5 separate regions of the Homo sapiens genome follow, and regions 1, 3, 4 and 5 are each linked to region 2. The links are contacts of gene promoters, found by promoter capture Hi-C in human tissues and cell types (Jung and others, 2019). All regions are on one chromosome and are shown on one strand. The core of a region is centred on a gene start or on the middle of the fragment in contact, and the rest is flanking DNA. Distances in the headings are between cores, read along the strand shown.

The links. Contacts are between HindIII fragments. The study calls those that stand out against the background at their distance.
Region 1: a contact is called between a fragment that was not itself captured here and the fragment with the promoter of E2F2 in region 2, in 1 of the 25 tissues and cell types used here (IMR-90 fibroblasts).
Region 3: a contact is called between a fragment that was not itself captured here and the fragment with the promoter of E2F2 in region 2, in 3 of the 25 tissues and cell types used here (H1 embryonic stem cells, bladder and dorsolateral prefrontal cortex).
Region 4: a fragment that was not itself captured here is called in contact with the fragment with the promoter of E2F2 in region 2 in 1 of the 25 tissues and cell types used here (mesenchymal stem cells).
Region 5: the fragment with the promoter of KDM1A here is called in contact with the fragment with the promoter of E2F2 in region 2 in 3 of the 25 tissues and cell types used here (adrenal gland, heart right ventricle and mesenchymal stem cells).

Annotation. Positions count from the first base shown.
Region 1 is chr1:23,184,262-23,187,219 of GRCh38, forward strand. No RefSeq gene overlaps it. Among named protein-coding and RNA genes, the nearest start is that of LUZP1, 17 kb to the left of the region's middle. The HindIII fragment of the contact is 4,187 bases long and covers 1-2,958 here.
Region 2 is chr1:23,529,834-23,532,539 of GRCh38, forward strand. It overlaps E2F2 (E2F transcription factor 2), which reads right to left and starts at 1,400. Exons shown (of 7, transcript NM_004091.4): 1 at 709-1,400. The coding sequence starts at 960. RefSeq lists silencers at 806-954, 1,492-1,631. The HindIII fragment of the contact is 9,154 bases long and covers 1-2,706 here.
Region 3 is chr1:23,261,630-23,264,344 of GRCh38, forward strand. No RefSeq gene overlaps it. Among named protein-coding and RNA genes, the nearest start is that of LINC01355, 23 kb to the right of the region's middle. RefSeq lists an enhancer at 1,648-2,482. The HindIII fragment of the contact is 3,246 bases long and covers 1-2,715 here.
Region 4 is chr1:23,044,340-23,047,284 of GRCh38, forward strand. It overlaps KDM1A (lysine demethylase 1A), which reads left to right. Exons shown (of 21, transcript NM_001009999.3): 3 at 88-147. MIR3115 (microRNA 3115) reads left to right here; the gene lies at 1-33. Among named protein-coding and RNA genes, the nearest start is that of MIR3115, 1.5 kb to the left of the region's middle. The HindIII fragment of the contact is 7,190 bases long and covers 1-2,945 here.
Region 5 is chr1:23,018,205-23,020,904 of GRCh38, forward strand. It overlaps KDM1A (lysine demethylase 1A), which reads left to right and starts at 1,264. Exons shown (of 21, transcript NM_001009999.3): 1 at 1,264-1,743. The coding sequence starts at 1,393. RefSeq lists enhancers at 1,068-1,755, 1,756-2,441 and a silencer at 1,511-1,580. The HindIII fragment of the contact is 14,593 bases long and covers 1-2,700 here.

The sequences.
Region 1 (2,958 bases), core at 329-2,828, 350 kb before region 2:
GTTCCAACTCTGTGTAGAGCCCCAGTAAATGAGGACCTTATCTTGTACCCAAATCTAAGTGTCAGAGGCTACCTCGTGAGCTAGGTGTCAGGGAGTTCCCCCTGCAGCAAAAGGAAGCTAGGTTTCCCACCCGGTCTGTGTGATGCCTGCATCCAGGCTCTTAGCCACTACTCCATACTACCTCCTTGACTGAGGCAGAATTCACCTCTGTATATGTATAATGTATATGTATATATGTATAATGTATACAGTACAATGCTGTCCTAGCCTTGACCTCCCAGGCTTAAGGCATTCTCCCACCTCAGCCTCCTGAATAGCTGGGACTACAGGCATGCACCACCACACCCAGCTAGTTTTTGTGTTTTTTGTAGAGACGGAGTTTCACCGTGTTGCCCAGGCTGGTCTCAAACTCCTGAGCTCAAGAGATCCACCTGCCTCGGCCTCCAAAGGTGCTGCAATTACAGGTACAAGCCACCGCGCCAGGCTGGCTTTGCTATTCCCCGCTCACCATTCCCCCTTGCAAAGGAAAATTGATCGGAAGAGGAAGGAGCCCACCCACCTTTGATTTCTGCACTTTTTCCTGGTGCCTCTGCGCCACCTGGTGGCCATATCTAAAATAAATTAGGATTTCTGAAGAAAGCTTTAAGGAGGTGTAGGGTGGGTCCACTTAACAACAAAATTCTCAACAGCAAACTTTTCATCCCAGTCCACATTTCTCTATAAGGCCCCAGGTCTCACCAGTGCCTGAGGTTATGAGAAAGGCAGAAGTGAATTTTGTCCCACTGAAGAATCTTGGGTCTGTCACTGCCCCTTCTGGGATCAGTTTCCTCATCTGTTAATAAAAAAGGCAGGAGGCCGAGTGCGGTGGCTCACACCTGTAATCCCAGCACTTTGGGAGGCTGAGGCAAGTGGATCACCTGAGGTCAGGAGTTTGAGACCAGCCTGGCCAACATGGTGAAACCCCATCTCTACTAAAAATACAAAAATTAGCCGGGCGTGGTGGCAGCCACCTGTAGTCCCAGCTACCCGGCAGGCTGAGGCAGGAGAATCACTTGAATCTGGGAGGTGGAGGTTTGGTGAGCTGAGATCACACCACTGCACTTCACCCTGGGTGGCAGAGCGAGACTCCCTCTCAAAAAAAGAAAGAGGCAGGAGGGGACTGGGCGCTACCAGCTCTGACATTCTAGGATTCATGTCTAAAGTGACTCTGCCTCCTCCCTTAGCTCAGTGAGCAAAATGTAAGCTCCCGGAGGGCAGGGAAGTTGCTGGCTTGTTCAATCTCTATCCCAAGTGCATGGGCAGTGCTTTGTACATAGGAGATACTTTATTGGGTTTGGGGCTATATTAATAGAAGCACTGTGTGTACAGTGAGGGAGATGATAGTCCTTCTGTCCGTGTCTAGAGAACTGTGTTCCATTTTGGGATCAGAACTTTGACTGGAACATGGAAAAAGTATAACTTATCCATAGGATGATGAACAAGATGATGGCTGGGGGGACCTCAAAATCACATTTTATGGGGAAGAGTTGAAGGAGCCACTCTCTGACTGTGGTATATAAAATACTGAAGGGGTGCAATGTGTCCACTTCAAACATCTGAAGAGAGCACGTGGGCTTTGAGAACTAGGAACCAGGGGCTGCCACTTCTGGGAGACAGATTTTTCTTTCCCCAAAACCAAGGGAAGCTTTCAGTCAGAGCTCAATAAAGAACAAATATGCATTTGATCTCAGTCTGTCCCTAATGTGCTTTTAAGCTTGGCAAGTTCCCTCATGACTTTGAACCTCAGTTTTCTCACATATAAAATGGGCATAATATGGAACATGCAGGAACATGCAGGCCTCCCAAAGTGCTGGGATTACAGGCATGAGCCACCACGCCTGGCCAAGTTCTAAGTTTATCTTCAATTTGACTTTTTTTTTTTATGTTATGAGGGAATCATAGAAAGCATGTTTAAAGTGCCGAGTGGGCCAGGCACAGTGGCTCATGCCTGTAATCCCAGCACTTTGGGAGGCTGAGGTGGGCGGATCACGAGGTCAGGAGTTTGAGACCAGCCTGGCCAGTATGGTGAAACGCCCATCCCTACTAAAAATACAAAAATTAGCTGGGCATGGCGGCAGGTGCCTGTAATCCCAGTTACTCAGGAGGCTGAGGCAGGAGAATCGCTTGAACCCGGGAGGTGGAGGTTGCAGTGAGTTGAGATTGCGCCATTGCCCTCCACCCTGGCAACAAGAGTGGAACTCTGTCTCAAAAATAAATAATAAAAATAAATAAAGTGCCAAGTGCAAGGCCTGGCACCTGACTAGTTTTGGGTTAGTGTAGCTATGGTTAAAAAAATACAGAAAGGGTAGGGAGCGGTGGCTCATGCCTGTAATCCCAGCACTTTGGGAGGCCGAGGCGGTCGGATCACGAGGTCAAGAGATCAAGACCATCCTGGCCAACATGGTGAAACCCCGTCTCTACTAAAAATACAAAAAAAAAAAAATTATCTGGGTGTGGTGGCGCATGCCTGTGGTCCCAGCTATTCAGGAGGCTGAGGCAGAATAATCGCTTGAACCCAGGAGGCGGAGTTTGCAGTGAGCCGGGATCGTGCCACGGCACTGCAGCCTCGCGATAGAGCGAAACTCTGTCTTAAAAAAAAAATAGAGAAAGGTGATGAGCACCCTCTCAAACAACTGGTACAAGTGTTGCCAAGGAGGTGGTAGAGGCTGATGGCTAGCCATGCTGGCTCTCAGGTCATACTGCTAGATGTAATTCTGACTTTGCTATTTATTTATTTTTGTTTTATTTTTTGAGATAGGGTATTGCTCTGTCACCCAGGCTACAGTGCAGTGGCATGAACATGGCTCACTACAGCTTCAACCTCTCAGGTTCAAGGGATTCTCCCACCTCAGCCTCCTGAGTAGCTGGGACTACAGGTGCATGCCACCAAACCTGTCTAGTTTTTGTGTTTTTTTGTAG
Region 2 (2,706 bases), core at 150-2,649:
ACTCCCACAAAACACACCCTGAGCCCAGGTCAGCAGGCAGCCTGGTGCCACTACACTTTGGGCCCTCTCTGGCAACGAGCCTGGGAGCTTGAGGAGAGAGCAGCCAATCTGAACAGAACCCAAGGGGGCTGCCCACATTTGTATCTGCTACATGGCTGTCTGGGAGGGAAGACTGGGCCTGGGGGAGGACCTAGGGCAGATACTTGGGGCTATCTCAGGAGCTGGCTGGACAATTTGGAGTCTGTCCATGGCAGATTGGATGTGAGAGACCCACTAGACCTATCCCTCTGTCTTACCAAAGTCCCACAGTGTCCCCAGGCCATACTCTTTGCCTGGACAATAGCAGGCACCCAGTACTGGTTTCTGGCCAAACAATGAAGTAATGAATGAATGGCGGCAACGCTGGCTGCATGGACTTCCCCAAGGTCACACAGTGCACTGGGAGTAGTGAGTTGGGTCTCCCTCCAGACTCGCAATCCAGTGCTCATTCCACTCCACTAGAATGGATGAGATTATTTCATCCAAAGTCTGAAAATGAAGGGGTCTTCTACTCAGATATTGGGGGCACTGGGTCCTGGAAACTGAAAGCTCATCTTCCCTCTTCCCAAAACTCTACCTGCTCCACTCAAACTGGATCTCAGGCACCCCTCCCTCCTTTCCCACACCTGGAAAAGCATAGGGGGAAGCGGTGGGGGCCCCCAGCATTACCGGCAGCCGGCCTGCCGGCAGGCATCGCACAACTTGGCCCTCGGGTCCGTGGGGAGTGGCGTCGAGGCAGGTGCCTGGCGCCGCTGCGGGAGGCGCCGTCTGCGGGTACAGCGGTGTGTAGTAGGTAGCAGTAGCTGGGCAGAGCTGGGGGCTGCTGAGGCCGGATGGCCACAGCTCTGTGGGGCTCATCGCGGGCACCACCTTCGGGGTCTGCCCAGCGGCCGAAGCCAAGGCCCGGGGCCCTTGCAGCATAGCGAGTAAGGCGCCCCCTACCCAAAAGGGCTTGGCGCGCCCGCGGACACCTGCGGGTTCCGGTGCTGCCGCCTTTCACACGGCCCGCGGCATGGCGCGGAGGCCGGGGGAAGCCGCCAATGGACGCCTGCGGGGCAAGGCCGGACCCTCCCCTCCTGGCCCGCGGCCGAGCAGAGAGCAGCGCTTAGAGATCGCCGCTTGGAGATCGCCCGGCGGCTGCGGTGGTGGCACTGCCAGGGGCTGTCTCGTCCCGAGGGCACCGCGACCCGGGACGCCCCGCGCTCCCCAAGGCCTCGGCACCTGGGGTCCGGCCGGCTCTGGGGAGGGGTCCCCGGCGTGCCCTCAAGCTCGGCGGAGACGCGATGCGCTGGGATGGGGAGGGGGGTCTCGACTGCACCGACTTCCTTGCGGCTCGCTCTCTAGTCCTTGAGTCTTTCTCTGCCTCTTTTTTTTCTTCTTTTTTTTTTTTTTTTAGCGCCAAACGTCGTGCCGCGAAATTCGGATCTCCCGCGGAAAATGCCGCGCTCCGGTTGGCTGCTGCGACAGTACAGGCTCCACCCCCCCCCCCCCCCCCGGAAAGAACGCGTCCTCGAGGCGGCGATTGCAACACTAGCTTCGCTGCTTAAAGGGGCAGCCACACCTGCTGTTGGTGCCGCCAGCCGCCGGCCGCGCTAGTTAGCAGCCGGCGAGACGGAGACAGAGGGTGGTTCCGGGATTCACAGTGCAGAGGCGGCCAGAGCAGTGCACAGCGCCCCGAGAAATGGGCCCGGATTCCCTGGGATTGAAGGGAAACATTTTGGCGCGGGGTCCCAGCCTGAGCCCAGACCCAGCAGTGTATTCCCCAGGCCACAGGCCCTTTTGTTAGTTTGCATTGTTGCTTAGCTAGCACATGTGCATTCATATCCCCTTTCCTGCTAAAATGAAGGCCAGGAACCTGTTCCCTTTAATGGCAGAGGGGTGAGGGACGGAGGCAAACTAGTCTACTTCTTTGTAGGGAAAACTAACATCTATTCAGCGCCTACAGGATGCCAGGCACCATGCTAGATCCTTACAAGCGTTGTTTTAGTTAATTTATTCCAACAATCCTGGGAAGAGGAATGATGATCCCCATGATAAAGACTGACAGTCTGAAAGGCTGGGTAACTTGCCCAAGGTCATACAGAGAGATTCCCTGATTTGAGAGCTGGCAACAGAATCTGGGACAGGTCCCAGCTCTGGAGCCCTTGTTTTTCCAGTTAAGGGGTTCTTCTACTCTCCCAAGCTGCCTGGGGGCACAGCAGGGTCAGAGTCCCACTGCAGAGCTTTGTCTTGTTCACAGTTGTATTATTAGGACCCAATACTCAGTAAATGTTTGAACATCTCTAGGTTTCTTTTAAACAATCCTTTTGTCACAAGAGCCTCTCTGCCTCATTCAAAAACCTTCATTGCTGATAATACATTCCTCATCACTCCGGTTTAGAGAGGCTCAGAGAAGCAAACTTGGGTAGTGAGTGGTAAAAAGTTGCTAGAAGCTGCTGCTAGATTTCAGGTCTGATTTCTTGCCTGGTGCTGTGTGATTTTTATGCAAGTCTGAGCCTTGGCATTCAAAGCCCTCCAGAGACAGTCCACAGCTTAATTCCTCATTAGATGGTTGAGGCCAAGGTGGCAATAACCCATGATGATTAAGAGCCCAGGCTTTGTAGCCAACAGCCCCGAATTCAAACCCAGGCCCAGACACTTTATTATTCATTGTGTGACCAAGGCAAA
Region 3 (2,715 bases), core at 13-2,512, 270 kb before region 2:
TGCAGCCTTGACCTCCTGGGCTCAAGCAATCTTCCCACCTCAGACTCCCAAGTAGCTGGGACTACAGGCACATGCCACCACACTCAGCTAATTTTTGTATTTTTTGTAGAGATGAGGTCTCACTATGTTGCAATGCTAGAGACAGGGTTTTGCCATGTTGCCCAGGCAGGTCTTGAACTCCTGGGCTGAAGCAATATGCTTGCCTTGGCCTCCCAAAGCGCTGGGATTACAGATGTGAGCCACCGTGCCTGGCATCATTTTCAAAACCAGACTTTTTCCTTGGTGATGGTTCTAGCCAAATGTTTTAGCTCCTCAGTGTCATCGTGGTTTCCCGCCATCAGGAAGCTGGTAGTCCTTCTCCCAACTGAAGCGGTCACCACATTTGATTTCCACTATCAGGAAATGAATATATCACTATTTTCATAACAGCTACCATGTATTGAGTGTGTGGTTGTTCTAGGCAGTAGGCTAAGCAGTTTCCATTTTATCACTTAGTTTTCACAAGAATCTTAGGAAATCACCATTAATAAACCAATTTTTCAAATGAAACTGATGCCTAAAGAGGTTTAAAAACTTTGAGTATGTGAGGATGGGGTAGAAGCAAGGATTGTCTTACTCTAGGGTCAGATCTGGGTTTTGTGGGGCCTGAAGCTTAGGCTACTGGGGGGGACCATCTTTAAGAAAATGATAAAAAAGGCCGGGCGCGGTGGCTCACGCCTGTAATCCCAGCACTTTGGGAGGCCGAGGCGGGTGGATCATGAGGTCAGGAGATCGAGACCATCCTGGCTAACATGGTAAAACCCCGTTTCTACTAAAAATACAACAAATTAGCCGAGCGTGGTGGCGGGCGCCTGTAGTCCCAGCTACTCGGGAGGCTGAGGCAGGAGAGTGCGGTGAACCCGGTAGGCGGAGCTTGCAGTGAGCTGAGATCGCGCCACTGCACTCCAGCCTGGGCGACAGAGCGAGACTCTGTATGAATTAAAAAAAAAAAAAAAGAAAAATGATTAAAAATTACAAATACAAATTTTGGCTGTGTGTGGTGACTCATGCCTGTAATCTCAGCACTTTGGCAGGTTCACTTGAGGCTAGGAATTCAAGACCAGTCCGGGCAACACAGTGAGCCCCGACTCTACTTTGGGAGGCCAAGGCAGGCAGATCACGTGGTCAAGAAAGCGAGACTATCCTGGCCAACACGGCGAAACCCCGTCTCTACTAAAAATACAAAAATTAGCTGGGTGTGGTGGCGTGCGCCTGTAGTCCCAGCTACTCGCTTGAACTCAGCAACCAAGGAGAATCGCTTGAACTCAGGAGGCAGAGGTTGCAGTGAGCCGAGATCGCACCATTGCACTCCAGCCTGGTGACAGAGCGAGACTCCGTCTCAAAAAAAAAAAAAAAAAAAATTATCAGACATAGTAGTGGCTCCCGTCTGCAGTCCCAGCTACTTGGGAAGCTTAGGTGGAAGGATCCCTTGAGCCCAGGAATTGGAGGTTGCAATGAGCCATGGTTGAGCCACTGCACTCCAGCCTTGGGGTGACAGAGCAAGACCCCCTCTCTAAAAAAAAAAAAGCCACAAAAATACAAATTTTTATAAGAAAGTGCTGGAGTAAAAGGAGATAATGTGTGACTGAGTGATCTTAACCAATTGCAGTTAAAAAATGTTTTTAACAAATTTTACAAAAAACGTTCACTCTGTGAACACATCATTCATTAGGACCTCCCTCAGCTCTTTGGAAGGAGCTAATAGTGTAAATGAAGGGTTTTGAGGCCACGACTTCATTAGCAACTCAATAAATCCACCTGTGCCTCTGCTGGAGCCGTGGTTTTCCACAAAGAATTGACAGGCCTAAAAGGTCAATAGTGCCTTGGCTGAGAAAGCTTGTGCTCCAGGGAGGAAACCTGAAGAAAGAGGTTGCCAAACTCTTCTTGGGTGGTCATTGATTGCACCCAAATTGCATTTTATGAGACTCTCAGATCCATTATCTCTCTTGGTCTTGGGAAGACAGTAGAGGGAGTTGGGATGGATTGTTCAGCTCTTTGCATTACAAATGTATCCTGGGTGACAGAGAGGGTGTCCTGCAGTTGCTCCCATGCTCCCTGACTCTCTTCTCTCTTCTCATTGTTGTCTCTCTTTAGGCCAGCCCTGTCCAATGCAAAGGCGAGCCCTGGTTCCATGGGTGAGGAAGGGATCTCTGGGTGCTTCCAGGCTGAACCTCTAGTCTGGTAAACATCTGAAAGCAAACACTCCTCTCCCATGAGAATTGGTCTCCTGGAGAGCATGCCTTTCTGAGTGACAAGTTAGTATTCTTCTGTTACCCTGATTTGTATCCTATTTGCTGTTAGATAGCTCTGGTCTTATTATGCAAAAGGTGCCTTTCCCCCGTCTTGCCCTGAATTGTATTACAAAGCTTCCTCAAATTAGGAAACATTAAAAGGTGCCCAGCTCAGCCCAAGCTTCTCCCCTCATCTTGGAGGAGGAAAGGGGAGCTGTTTCAGTTTATGCTGCCATATAAAGGGCTGTTGTTTGTTTAAGTTGCTGTATTCCATCCCTGGCACTGTCTCCAAGCATGATACTATGACGAAGCTTGTTTTTGTTTTGTTTTGTTTTGTTTTTTACAGCTCTTTTCTCTTTTCCTTCCTTCCTTCCTTTTTTTTTTTTTTTTTAACGAGGTCTTGCTTCATTGCTCAGGCTGGAGTGCAGTGGCATGATTATGGCAG
Region 4 (2,945 bases), core at 172-2,671, 490 kb before region 2:
TGAGTCGCCAACTATTAGGCCTTTATGTCCAGATATTATCCTAATTTATGGAGTAAGGTCCCTGAGTTCTCCTCTTTCCTTCCACAGGGCAAGCAGGAGGACTTCAAGACGACAGTTCTGGAGGGTATGGAGACGGCCAAGCATCAGGTGAGGGTGGCATTAGATGCTTGCCACTTAGTAGCAAGAGCCGCCAAGTAGGAATTGATGCTTGCAAGTGTTTTTGGCTGTGGTATCCACATTTTAGCCAGAAGCGCAGGTGAAATTTAACCCACAGGACATAATAGTATAGTAGGAGAGAGTGTAGTGAGAACAAAGGCAAGCAAAACCTTTTGAAGTCCTCAGGCCGATCTCAGCCCTCCACTCTTTGTGTTTTCGAGGAGATGGCGGGTACTTTTCTCCCCAGCAGCCTTTCTATTAATAGTAAACATGATATAGAACATAGACTTAGGAATCATGGGACCCTTAAAGAGAAATACAGCAGTATACACAGAGAGGAAAAGTCACAGGCTCAAAAGTCTAAAAGCAAAAACAAACGGGACTGAGAGGCATTCTAGGACTAGTCAGAGGAACTATGTGGGCAAGTGACATCTTTTTAAAAATGGTTGTTACAGGGTATTGGGTACCTTTTTTCAGTTAACATTACGTAGTTAATCATTCTTCAGTTTAAACATTTTGTTTCTCATGTGAAAAATGTCTTTTGAAAAGTCTGAAATACTTTTTTCTGTTCAGACCAAACAGTATGAGATTTTTACTTCTAGGAAAAAGTAAAGAATTTATAGGGGCCACCATCTGGAACAGTTAAAATTTATCCCAGCAATCCAAAATAACGTATCTGGATTTCATCCTTTGTCTCTTGAAGGATGTTTTTGTTCCAGTTGCTCAAAGCTGGTTTATAGATACGTTTTGATAGAATTGGAATAGGCACTACTTCACTTTTGGAGGTTGTCACTTTTCAACTGTCTTAAGTCTACTTTAAAATTATTTGTTTTGCAGTTTGCATATAACAGGTCCTGGGACTGTTTCTATTTCACTCTCTTGAACTAAAGGTAGTTCATTGTTAATACAGCAATTAGTAATAAGGGGATCCAGAATGTTAGGAGCAGACTTTTAAAAATGCTGTCCCAAGGATTGCAGGTTGATAATCAGTACATGGTTATCTTAGCAGAATTAAACCCTGTTCAGAGTCTAGATCTGTGGCATATAAACCTTGAAGAATGCTTTTCATCAAATGACGCACAATTAGATCTTCCATGGAACTGTTGAAGATCAGGGATGGCCTTTAGAGTTCTAATCTTGAAGAAAGAAGTTGAGTTTTCTTGTTTTTTGTTTCTGTTTTTTTTTTGTGTGTGACTATTTGCTCTTTTGCATTAAGTAAACAATATCATATATTGCTGAAAGTGAAAGCAGACTTTCATATAAAAGTGTGCTGCTGATTACTGTTAGTAGAACATGAATTTTAAGTGTTTCCAGGAATGATGGTGACTGTTGTAAAACCTTCAAGATCTCTCTTCCAATCTTTGTCACGTTCAGAAGCATGCATTTGTGAAATGATCAATCAGGGTTAGAAATGTGCTTGTAAGAGATCAACATTCTTCTCTTAATGAAGCCAGATGACCCTCATGGGTATCTTGGTGCCAGGATCATATCTTGACTTCTTAAAACCCACCTCAAGTTGGTGTACACATCCTAAATCTTAGAGCTAGAAGAGAACTTGAGGTCATCTTGTCTAACTTCCTGCCTTCAAACAGTATTTTATCTCCCTTATTTTATGGATTAGGATCTGAAACCCAAAGAAGTTAAATAGATTGACCAGCAATACACCAGCAGTTCTGGAGAAGGAGAACCCAGGGATCTTGCTTCTTAGTGCAAAGACTATTCCTTACACCCTTAGAATCCTTTAAAATAGTGTTTACCCTAGAAATTAAAAACTCTGAAGTATAGGAGGTTGTACAATTCTCTTTTCGTTTTCTCTCTCCTCCCCCTATTCCTTATTCCTTTTATTTTAAAACATTCTAGGACTTGATATGATACATCTCTAGTTTTCTCATATTAAGTAAAGTCTTTAATATGTAGATCACCTCAGGCTTTTATTTTCACGCTAGAAATCTAGTTATAGTTATCTACTTGATATAAAAAATTAAAGGCAAGTAACTCTCATGGAGGCCTTCTTTTCTTTGTTAATTTTTATATCTCTATTACCTTACTGCAGTCAAGATGCTACCTATATCTTACACGAATCAAGAGGAAGTGATTTAATGGAATAGAGGACCTGTCATCTCACCTGCCTCTCCCGCTTTTTCTACTTCTAATTAACCTACTTCAAAAGGTCTAAATTATTCCTTCAAATATTTAACTACATTTATTATGTATTCAGAGAAAGTATAAGCCAGTCAGACCATTAGAAAGGGCAGTTCTGCTTTAGAGTGACTGCATTCTGAAAGGTGATGCTGGAATTTCCTGTATAAAGGTGGTGAGCAGGAAGGAACTGAACAGAAAGTAAGACTGGTATTTAGGCAACTTGGAGCTTTTTAATAATTTTTGAATGTTTCAAAGACAACGTTTTGGAAACATTCTAAATTTTCAGAATACCAGATTCCATTACTTAATGGAAAACGCAAACACCAGAGTACAAAACTATCAGAGCCAAGTGTAAATTACTTCTGAATTAATGTGTACTGTTGGTACTTTTAGGATGTTATTAAAATCATTTGTATTCTAAAAGATTTTTCCTCTGAAAGAGATAGGTACTCATGAGTTAGATTATCCAAAATGGTGTCTATTACTTCATTTTGGTACTATCCTATAAGAAGGATGTTTTGATTTAGCTTCTCAACAGTTTAGGTTACAAATTAACATACATTTTTTTTTTCTTTAAGAAAAGGTTAGCTTTTTATCTTGCAGGCTTTTCACCCTGGTTTTGATAATGGTCTTCATTCCTTAAAATA
Region 5 (2,700 bases), core at 14-2,513, 510 kb before region 2:
TCAAGTGATTCTCCCACCTCAGTCTCTCGAGCAGCTGGTACTACAAGTGCGTGCCACGCCACTCGGATACATTTTCTTTCTTGCATAGCTTTTACTTTTTTTCCTTTCTACATTTGATTGCCTTTTTGTCTGTTTGCTTAGTTTTTTACAAAAAACAACTTTACTGAAGTACTACAGTTACATAAAACATACCTGTTTTACATGGATAGTTCATAGAGTTTTGACAAATATATACACCTATGTAACCATCACCCTAATCAAGATATAAAACATTTCCATCACCCCCAGCAAGTTCTTTCTTGTTCTTTTGCAGTCAACCCCCGACCCCCATCTCAGGCAAGGGCTGATTGGAGCCTATTACTGGAGATTAGTTTTACCAGTTCTTGAACTTCATGTAAATGGAATAATTTTTTGACAATTTCACTTCGAAGAGACAGACTATTAAAAAGACAATTGTTTGTGTAATAAGTACACGCATGCTAAAAGTACACGACCTGTTCCAGTTTTGGGTTAGCAAGGGATTCCTCGAAAAATTAAAAGAATAAACCGCTACTATCATTATTAGAAAGAATTAACCTGGAGTAGAAAGAGGTGTTATGTGGATGGGGATGGGGGACATGAAGGATGGGGGACATGGGGGATGGGGGACATGGGGGATGGGAGAAGCGCAAGACATGGAGTGCGAATGAGGTTGGGGTCCAGCCAGAAGGAAAAGCATGAACAAAGGCTTGGAGACAAGAGCAATTCCGTCTGGACTCAAACCTGGATTTCGTAACTTGTCTCCATTTTACTACCATCGAAACTGCTGTGCTCTCCAAGTTTTTTGCCCAGTCCAAGCAGGGCAATTATGAATAAGTAAGACGCTCTACCAACATATTTCAGTGTTTTCCCCCATTAGACTGTAAGTTCTTTGAAAGCTAGAACTTCATAATGTAACCCTTGTTACGTAGTAGGCAAGCATTAATAAATACTGGTTGAATTAACGAATAATTGGGTGAGTGAATGAACGAACGCACGCATGCAAACCCGAAAGTCCCTGGAGGAAATGGTCACCTTCGGAGGTTTAGTCTGGCCCAGAAGCCCTAAGACCACGGACTGTGCCAGGTCCCACTCCAAACGCCGGGGAGACGCTCTAGGCAAGCTACACGTTCTTTGCTGCGGTGCCACTCTAGCCGCGAGAACGCCGCTCTATGGCTGCGGGGGAGGGGCGGGGCTCGTGGGTGTCTCCGACCCTTTTTGTCCCGGCGCGGCGGGAGCGCGCTTGGCGCGTGCGTACGCGACGGCGGTTGGCGGCGCGCGGGCAGCGTGAAGCGAGGCGAGGCAAGGCTTTTCGGACCCACGGAGCGACAGAGCGAGCGGCCCCTACGGCCGTCGGCGGCCCGGCGGCCCGAGATGTTATCTGGGAAGAAGGCGGCAGCCGCGGCGGCGGCGGCTGCAGCGGCAGCAACCGGGACGGAGGCTGGCCCTGGGACAGCAGGCGGCTCCGAGAACGGGTCTGAGGTGGCCGCGCAGCCCGCGGGCCTGTCGGGCCCAGCCGAGGTCGGGCCGGGGGCGGTGGGGGAGCGCACACCCCGCAAGAAAGAGCCTCCGCGGGCCTCGCCCCCCGGGGGCCTGGCGGAACCGCCGGGGTCCGCAGGGCCTCAGGCCGGCCCTACTGTCGTGCCTGGGTCTGCGACCCCCATGGAAACTGGAATAGCAGAGACTCCGGAGGGGCGTCGGACCAGCCGGCGCAAGCGGGCGAAGGTAAGGCTCGACCCTTCCCTCAAACGACACCGCCTGGTGCCGAGCTTCCCCGAGGCTTCTCCGCCCTCCCCCGCCGCCGCCGGGTCTTGGGCCCTGCGACCACTCAGACCTCCCCTTGTATCGCTGCGCACGCCACGTCCCCTCTAGCTGGACGGGTGGGGTGAGAAAGGAAAAGTCTTTGCCGGTGTTGACTGCGGTCTTTGTGCTGGGTCCCGAGCGACGTGGGAAGGGGCATCGATGATTGCTGGGAGGGGTATTTTATTCCTTAGGTCTTTCTTGCACACCTTTTCATTTTCTTGACTGGAAAATGGCTCCCTGACGTGGGGTTACGGTTGGCGTTCTTGGAGACCTCACTTGTTTGTTCACAGATAGGTCTGGAAGCTGTTGGGCGATATTGATGGCGTTTCAGCTGGGTGCACGAGGGGGCTGTAGGTTGATGCTGAAGAAATCGCCTTAGCCGGGGAGATGAAAAGAAAGGGTCGTTTTTGCTTTTGTTTTTGTTTGAGCAAAACCCTGCTGTGTGGTAGGAGTTCTAGTCTTTTTTTTTTTCTTTTTTAAAATCCTCTCAGCGATCTTTTGGCGCAGAATTTTGCAGATGAGGAAGCTGCTGATTGAGAGAGCAAATAATAGTCAAAATGCAAATATATGGGAAGAAAAGATTTGACTCCAAACAGTATATACAGACAGTGACTGCCTCAAATGTCTGTGTCCTAGATGCTATATTCAGCGTGTCACCAACATTACTTTTTTTTGTTGTTGTTAAATATCAACGGGCAGGTATTGCTAGCCCTATTTTAGGAATGAGTAAACTGAGGCACACAATTTAAGCAACTTGCCTAAAGTCACAAAGCTAAATAAGTGATGGAAGTGGAATGTAATTCCCACATTCATGTTGTTACAGGGTATCATCAGCCCTTGAAACAAAGGACCACATGGGACACTGTGTGCAGGGCACTG